Regions from separate parts of the Homo sapiens genome. Here regions 1 and 3 are each linked to region 2. The links are contacts of gene promoters, found by promoter capture Hi-C in human tissues and cell types (Jung and others, 2019). All regions are on one chromosome and are shown on one strand. Each heading gives the region's core, a stretch centred on a gene start or on the middle of the fragment in contact. The rest is flanking DNA. Distances are from core to core; before and after follow the strand shown.

Evidence for each region. The method cuts DNA at HindIII sites, captures the fragments that hold promoters and counts their contacts. A contact is called where the count stands out against the background at its distance.
Region 1: a contact is called between a fragment that was not itself captured here and the fragment with the promoter of ENGASE in region 2, in 2 of the 25 tissues and cell types used here (dorsolateral prefrontal cortex and thymus).
Region 3: a contact is called between a fragment that was not itself captured here and the fragment with the promoter of ENGASE in region 2, in 3 of the 25 tissues and cell types used here (liver, lymphoblastoid cells and mesendoderm cells).

What each region holds. Positions count from the first base shown.
Region 1 is chr17:79,284,277-79,286,976 of GRCh38, reverse strand. The region is part of intron 3 of RBFOX3 (RNA binding fox-1 homolog 3); the gene reads left to right. Among named protein-coding and RNA genes, the nearest start is that of ENGASE, 210 kb to the right of the region's middle. The HindIII fragment of the contact is 4,236 bases long and covers 1-2,700 here.
Region 2 is chr17:79,073,475-79,076,174 of GRCh38, reverse strand. ENGASE (endo-beta-N-acetylglucosaminidase) reads right to left here and starts at 1,351. Exons shown (of 14, transcript NM_001042573.3): 1 at 1,085-1,351. The coding sequence starts at 1,230. RefSeq lists a silencer at 950-1,489. The HindIII fragment of the contact is 14,853 bases long and covers 1-2,700 here.
Region 3 is chr17:79,234,504-79,237,203 of GRCh38, reverse strand. It overlaps RBFOX3 (RNA binding fox-1 homolog 3), which reads left to right. Exons shown (of 15, transcript NM_001350451.2): 4 at 1,399-1,438. Among named protein-coding and RNA genes, the nearest start is that of ENGASE, 160 kb to the right of the region's middle. The HindIII fragment of the contact is 7,036 bases long and covers 1-2,700 here.

The DNA of each region.
Region 1 (2,700 bases), core at 99-2,598, 210 kb before region 2:
GAGTCTCTGGCCACAGGACCTCACTTGACACGCACATAGGGTGGATTAGGGAACCCTGACCCTACAGCGTTCTCAGCCCACAGTGTGGGACCAGGCTTCTGACAGTGTCTGAGGAGGGCACCAGGGCGTCCTCAGCAGGCACCTCCTTGCTGGGCACCTCCGTCTTCCCTCAGTGAGCAGGTCTATGGGTGGGACCTCCCTCTCCAGCTTCTATGTTAACGCACAGCCTGGCTCCATCCTCTTTAGGGCCCTACCCTTTCCCATTCTTAACACCAAGGGAGAAGAACCAGAAAGTCACGGAATCAGCCCAGTAGGGGGTTAACAAAAGGCTTGTGAAATGCAGCTCTCTCGGGGTGGCTGGCGAGGCTGGGAGCCGCAGCGTATTAAGCTCTGTCACATATCAGGAGGAAGCCAGCCCAGGGATGGGCAAACCCTCCCTGCACAGTTAATAAGCATCAGGGGCCGGGCGTGAAGCACCCCCATCTCAGCGTTTTCTGTTCAACAGGCTTTGCTGGTCTTTGGGAGCAGGCTGCAGGGGGAGAGAAGTGCTGGGGTGATTTGGTGATGGAGGAGGGGATGGGGACAGGAGAGTCATCTCTATACTTCTGGGGCAGAACTGCAGATGGCAGCCGGGGGCGTGGAGAAAGTGGCCTCACTCCACTGAGTCCAAAACCTGCAGTGAGAAGCCAGGAATTACCAGGCTCTCTAAGGGGCAGAAAGTCCTAGAAAGTTCCAGGTGGCCACTATGACATGGGAGCCAAGCAATCTCTGCAATGCCAATCAAGGCAGCCACATGACGTCAGAGGGTCCTCACAAGGGCTCGGAGAGGCAGGCCAGGGACATTTATTTGCAATAGACTCTGCACCAGTACTCAGCTTCTAGAAGGTCACAGTGCCAGCTGATCTGAGTGGAATGGTCTCAAGCCAGCAGCCATTCTGCCCATTGACTTTCTGTGTAGGACAGATGTACCCACTTGAACAAAACCCAATGCACAGGCCGGGTGCAGTGGCTCACGCCTGTAATCCCAGCACTTTGGGAGGCCGAGGTAGGTGGATCATCTGAGGTCAGGAGTTCAAGACCAGCCTGCTCAACATGGCAAAACCCCATCTCTATTAAAAATACAAAATTACCTGGGCATGATGGTGGGCGCCTGTAATCCCAGACACTTGGGAGGCTGAGGCAGGAGAATCACTTGAACTCAGGAGGCGGAGGTTGCAATGAGCTGAGATCGCACCATTGCACTCCAGCCAGGGTGACAGAGCGAGACTCCATCTCAAAAAAACAAAACAAAACAAAAACCAATGCATGAAAATGCAGCCTTATCAAAGCAGATAAAGGAGCAGGTGGTTTCTGGCACTGTCAGTGGATCTTCGGGAAACCACAGGGACTCACAGCAGGATTCCTGTAGGATGGAGCTTCTCTAGTGCATTTCAATATTGGTTTACAGATCTTTACCTACTTGATGGAAAGGTTTCAGGGCATTGTATGCTACAGTATGTGGAGCCTGTGTTAATTGAAGATGGTCAGAAATGAAGGTACAACATCTCTGGGTGTATCACGTAAATGAGCAGGAATATATGGTTATGAACTAGTACCATTTGCATCCACATGGAACTTTTCATCAACAGGTCTGTTTCATTAGCTGACCATGGCATGAAATCAGGAAAGAGCAAATGGGAATTCTTGTGGGCATATTAACTGCAGCTTGTCTATCCACCTGGCTGGGGCAGAAAGGGGGGACAGCGCCACTGACAGCTTCTCAGTGCAGGAGCGAGGAGAGGGTTACAGCCCAGAGGAGGGTTGGCTGTTCTTTGCGATGTGCCTGCGTCGTAGAAGGAGATTTTCAAGCATCTTCTTTCTCATCCTCCAACACATCCGCAAGGCAGGTAGCACCACTCCCATTTTGTGGATGGAAAACTGAGGCACAGGGAGTGGAATCATTTGCCAGGTGTCACACAGGCTGCAAATATCCACACAAGCTTTTGAATCCATGACCATTTACAAAGCGAGGTCTACTTCTGTGTCTGCCCTTCTTCTCTCCGAACACCAGGGCCAGAGGATGAAGGGCCCCAAGCTTGCCATCTCCAGCCCCTTCATGACCCCAAAGTCCATCAGGGCAGTCATAAAAGAGAAGGCTGGCTGGGCACAGTGGCTCACCCCTGTAATCCCAGCACTTTGGGAGGCCGAGGTGGGTGGATCACCTGAGGTCAGGAGTTCGACACCAGCCTGGACAACATAGTGAAATCTCGTCTCTACTAAAACTACAAAAATTACCCGGACGTGGTGATGAGCACCTGTAATCCCAGCTACTCAGGAGGCTGAGGCCGGAGAATCCCTTGAACCCCAGAGGCAGAGGTTGCAGTAAGTCGAGATCAAGCCACTACACTCTAGCCTGCTGGGTGACAGAGCAAAACTCCATGTCAAAAAAAAAAAGCGAGTCTCTTCCCCCAAGCCTGCTTCCAGCCATCTCCTTGTGACTGCTCTGAGCCTTCAGCTCCCATGAGGGCCTGTCTCAATCACCACGCACTCTCCTCCCTATTTTTTATGACTTTCTTGTTGCTGTTATTTTCTGAACAAACCAAAACATTTGGGTTGTGGATTTGGAATAACAAAACATTGAAGAAAGTTATTAAATATTGTAACCTAGGTTTTACTCTTCCCAAAATATTTTCTGAACCCCAAGTGGTTCAGAGACTTCAT
Region 2 (2,700 bases), core at 102-2,601:
CTTTGTTCACTGAGTTGTCATCTGCCATCACTCCACTGCCATTCAGAGGCCTGTTGCAAAGAGTCCTCTGTAGCATCTGCCATCACCAAACACTGACCCAGGGCCTCCAGAATGACATTGGGAGACCCTGAGAACTGCAGGGGTCGGGGACGGATTCAAGCAGAGATGCCGCAGTTGTTCCTCTCCACCTTCCTTTTCCAAAGCCCCCTTCCTCGTTGATGTCCTTATTATACTTCAGCCACCCCCTCCCAGACCTTCTCAGAACAATCCCACACCAGGTCACCTTTGTCACCTGTCATTCCTCCACTAGGAGGGAAAGAGCCATCTCCACATTCCTCCTGTCCAAAAATATCTTTCCCAGCAGCCAGCCTTCATCCCATCTTCATGAGGTCTGAAATGCTCAGCAGTCTCACTGCTTTGGGTTTAGAAACAAAGCTACGGCTGCTGTTTCCGGAAGCCATGTCTGTGCTCCTAACTTCTCCCCCTGCAACCTACTGAGGGGGAGTTTACCGGGTGGGCAAGTGCCCCCCAAAGGAAGGAAGCCCAGCCCAGAGGGGCATGTTCGTCCCTTTCTGTCTCTGTGCTTTGGCCCTTTCTGTTCCCCGCCAGTTGGATACCCTACTCCCTATTCTCCACCTACTGAAGGCTTCCTCCTCCCCAAAGACTCAGTTCTAGTGTCACCCCTACAGAAGGCCACCCCTTCCACCAGCCGGCATCCACTGAGCCAGGCATGAGCACCGCCGCCGGGATCTTCCGCATAGACCAGCGACGTGGGAAGCAGGGGTCTGGCCGGGGCGTCGGGATTCCCGCTGGGCCCCGCGGCCACTCGGGTTTGCACCCGTATTTCTGAGATAGGCAGGGGTCACGCACGGGGGCCGGAGGCCGCTGCCCGGCAGTGGCGCGAGGACGGCGGGGCGGACCGGGGCGGAGGGGCGCTGCCACCCTCTGTCCCTTACTGTGCACGGAGCGGACACAGGCGCCGGCCCCCCGCCCCTCGGCGCGCCCGTGCCGGGAAACCTCGGGCCCCGGGGCCACGGACTCTCAGCCCCGCGGATCGGGGTTCACGCGGGCCCCGCAGCCCCACCTCCTTCCCGGCCGCCGCCGCCGCGGCCGCGGCTCCTGATCCTCCTGCTCCTCCTGCGTCCCCGCCTCCGGGGCCGCCAGCCCCTGCAGCTGCCGCCGCCGCCGCCGTGTAGCCGACCGGGTGACCGTCACCGCCGCGGCCTCCATGACACTGTCCGCGCACGCCGAGAGGCAATCGCAGGCCCGGGCCCGCCCCCGCGCCGCGCTCGGCCAATGGGAAGTGCGCAGCGCTGACGCCGCGCTGGGACGGGACTCCGAGCTGACTCCCGGCCAGCGGCCGCGCGGCGGGGACTTTGTTGAGGCGACAGGCCGGGGGCGGGGCCGAGGACGGGGCGGGGCTGTGAGGGGCGGGGCCTGGGCGAGTTCCGAGCCCAGGGTTCGTCGTCGTTCTTGTTGTTGCCCATCATTGGCTATGAGTCCAGGGTGCTAGAAGGCTCTAGAAGGCTTCGGAACGCCCCAATCTTAGAGTTCTCTCTTTAGCCTCACCAGCTTCCTTTGTCAAGCAAACCGAGGTTTATCCCAGAGAGATTAAGCAATCTCCCAGAGGGCACAAAGTCAGCAAATGGTGGCAATGAGATTTTAACTCATGCAGCTAACCCCTATTAAAAGATAATTTTCAGACCGGGCGCGGTGACTCACGTCTGCGATTCCAGCACTTTGGGAGGCCGAGGCGGGCGGATCACCTGAAGTCAGGAGTTCGAGACTACCCTGGCCAACATGGTGAAACCCCGTCTCTACTTAAAATACAAAAATTAGCCGGGCGTGGTGGTGCATGCCTGTAATCCCAGCTACCTGAGAGGCTGAGACTGGAGAATCGCTGGAACCCGGGAGGCAGAGGCTGCAATGAGCCGAGACGGTGCCATTGCACTCCAGCCTGGGCGACAGAGGGAGACTCCGTCTCAAAAAAAAAAAAAAAAAGATGAAAGGTTAGTAGGTTAGTATCGGGCCATGTGGAAGCTGGTGTCCTATGTAGGATGCATAGTTTTCCAGTGAAACACGGATTTCTTTCTACAGCCCCACGCCTGTGCCCAACAGTAGTAGTTGCTCTACCCCTAAGCGTGCAGGGCCTGGAGTGGCACCTCTGCAAGAGTGGCACTGCCCAGCGTCTTAGGCACAAAAGGAGTTCACAGGAAACATGATAGAACAGAGCCCTGAGAAGCCAGAACTCAAGGCTGGGCCCCACAGGGCAAACCAAGGCTCTCCTCCCTCCAGGCCCCAACGCCCCTCCACAGCTAGGAGCTTCCAGTGCTGGGCTGCAGCTGCCGCCCAAGCCAAGTTGACTGGGCCTTTATTATTGTTGCAGACTTTGAACTTTATGAGGCTCCAAGCTTCCATAAACGCCAATGGTGGGAACTATGACTAAGGTTGTTGAATATGGGCCATGGTGCAGGCCAGCCAGTTAGGCAGGAAGGACGGGCCACTCAGAAGCAGGACACGCTGACCCATGGGGAGGACAGAGAAGGCAGAGGGCTCCTCTTTGGGGCTTCAGTCCTGGGAAGCTTACAGTGAGCGAGGGCAGTGGATCCCCAAGTTCCCTCCTGCTGTGTTCAGGGGTGCACCGGACGTGGACAGTCTTGATCTGGGGTGCATGTAACCAGGTGTTCCCAAGCCCTCACC
Region 3 (2,700 bases), core at 68-2,567, 160 kb before region 2:
GCTTTTCACTTGCTTTTATTTTTTGCACTAAGTTTTAAAAAATACGCACACATACACATATGCACAGGAGGCTGGGGGCAGGGAGTGGCATCTTAACAGGTATGGATATTCTTTTTGGAGCAACGAAAAGGTTCAGGCATCAGAGAGCAGCAGTGATTGACAGCAGTGTGAATGCACTCAATACCACTGAATTGTACATTTGAAAATGGTTAAAATTGTAAATTGTATATTATGTATATTTTACCACAATTAAAAAATGTGCAAGTCATGTACACAGAAAATTATGAAACATTACTAAAATAAAGGAAGGAAATCTAAGTTTGTTTAAAGCACACTATACACACACCCCTTTGTTTCTGAACTCCTCAATGACCTACTAAGAAAAGGAAGGTCTCCAGGCACTCGTGTGGAGTCCCAGGCCCCAGTGAGCTAGCTTTGTGACTTAGGCAGGAGTGGATACCCTGGCCCCGGGCCCTGGATTATAAAGTGAGTGAGTGGTGGTCCTTGCCAGTCTGTCCGTATCACTGAGCTGTTCCTGCTGCTGGTAGGTGCACCTGATTCACAATAACATACAACGATTGCCTCTATAATTATGTGTTTGGTGGGATTTAGAATTTGTTAAATAACTTTTCTTTAATAACATAAAATGAATGTGCAGGGCAAGGTGGGTGGATTGCCCGAGCTCAGGAGGTTGAGACCACCCTGGGCAACATGGCGAGACCCCCGTCTCTACTAAAAATACAAAAAATTAGCTGGGCGGGGTGGCACACACCTGTACTCCCAGCTACTAGGGCGGCTGAGGCACAAGAATCGCTCGAACCCAGGAGGCGGAGGTTGCAGTGAGCCAAGATCGCACCATTGCATTCCAGACAGAGCGAGACTCCATCTCCAAAAACAAATAAATAAATAAAATGAATGTGCATGCCATGACCACACTCAAAGTGACCCCCGCCCTACACCTGGAGGAGGAAGCAAATCCCCACGGCATGGCAGAGGAAACCCAGTGTGAAACTAAACGTCACCATCAACAAGCCACAAGGCCTGCGTTTGTGGACAACCTCAAACCAGGCTGGGGAGTGCTTGGAGTTTGAGGTGGGGGAAAAAAAGGAACATCCAGAGTCGCAGAGAAAATGAGTCTGAAACCTCTGGGTGGCCGGTCCACCGTGCCCTGTTTTGCTTTATCTCTGCCTGTTATCTAACCGCCGCCTCCCAGCCATGCTTGAGATGCAGACGGCAGCCAGAGGTTAACCCAGGCAGGTTTCCTTGGACTCCCAGGGAGATGATGCTTCCACCTCCAGACTTCCCTAGTCGATGAGCAAATAGCATCGCCAGCAACCAGATGCATGATGACAACATTGATTGTGATTCTCTCTCCTTTCTCTCTTTTTCTTTTCTTAGAGAGCCCAGAGTGCCTCGGGGAAAATTGGCTGAATAAAAGGTATAAAGACTTTCTCTATTTTTCCTGAATAGTTTTTGACAGATATGAGCATGTTGAACATCTTGGGAGCTGCTGATAATGAAAGCCAGGAGTTTCTGGGGTTTCCCAGCCACTGGAGGGAGGAAGAGTTTGGGGGCTGTGGAGGGAAGGCTTGGCGCCGTTTAGCACCTCTGTGTCGTGTTCTCTCTTGTCCCCCATGGATGAGCCCAAAATGTGCTGGGAAAGGCAGGACTGGGAGCCGGAGGGGCTGAAAGGGAAATGGATAAATGGGGTAAGGATGGAGGACGATTGTTTTTAGGCAATTCTGGCTGGCCTGAGAAGCAATGTCACTGCCTTCCTGATCCTTTCCCTCCCCCAACCCCAAGGTCCCCCACCCCAGGTGCTCCGCGCATGGCCACCCATTCCTCAGGCAGCCCCAGCTTGCTGGTCCAGGGTGGTCCAACTCATCTCCATGGCCTGGTCTCCTCGGGGAAGGGGCTTCGGATACCAGCTCAGTTCCCAGTGTTGACCCTCGCTGGGGGACTGGCTACTACTGCCTGAGCCCATTGGTCCATTGCTCTGTACCTCCAACCCCCATTACCCACCTGTGGCTGACCCCCTCCACAGATTCACTTGCAGAGTTTACTTTGGGGAGATTATTATACAAGTATGATGCTTCTGGACCTTCAATGGGGTTGTGTCCTGATAAACCCATCATAAGGTGAAAATATTGTAAGTCAAAAATAAATTTAATGGACCGGGCTTGGTGGCTCATGCTTGTAATCTCAACATTTTGGGAGGCCAAGGTGGGCAGATCACCTGAGGTCAGGAGTTCAAGACCAGCCTGGCCAACATGGCGAAACCCTATCTCTACTAAAAAATACAAAAATTAGCCGGGCATGGTGGCGGGTGCCTGTAGTCCCAGCTACTGGTAGGCCGAGGCAGGAGAATCACTTGAACCCGGGAGGCGGAGGTTGCATGAGCTGAGATCACACCACTGCACTCCAGCCTGGTCAACAGAGCAAGACTCCATCTCAAAAAAAAAAAAAAAAAAAAAAAAAAAAAGCACTTAATGCCCCCAATAAACCCAACAAACATAAAGTTGAAAAATTCAAAGTCAATCGTAAGTCAAACCTTCGTAAGTTGGAGATCATCTGTAATGTATATTTAGTGTGAACAAAATTAGAAAATGCAGCCATCGGCCCTCAGGTGGCCTCTCTTCGCTAGGTCCTGGGTTTTGGGTGGTGTGTGCACAAGGCCAGCGCTGCGTTTTTCAAAAATCA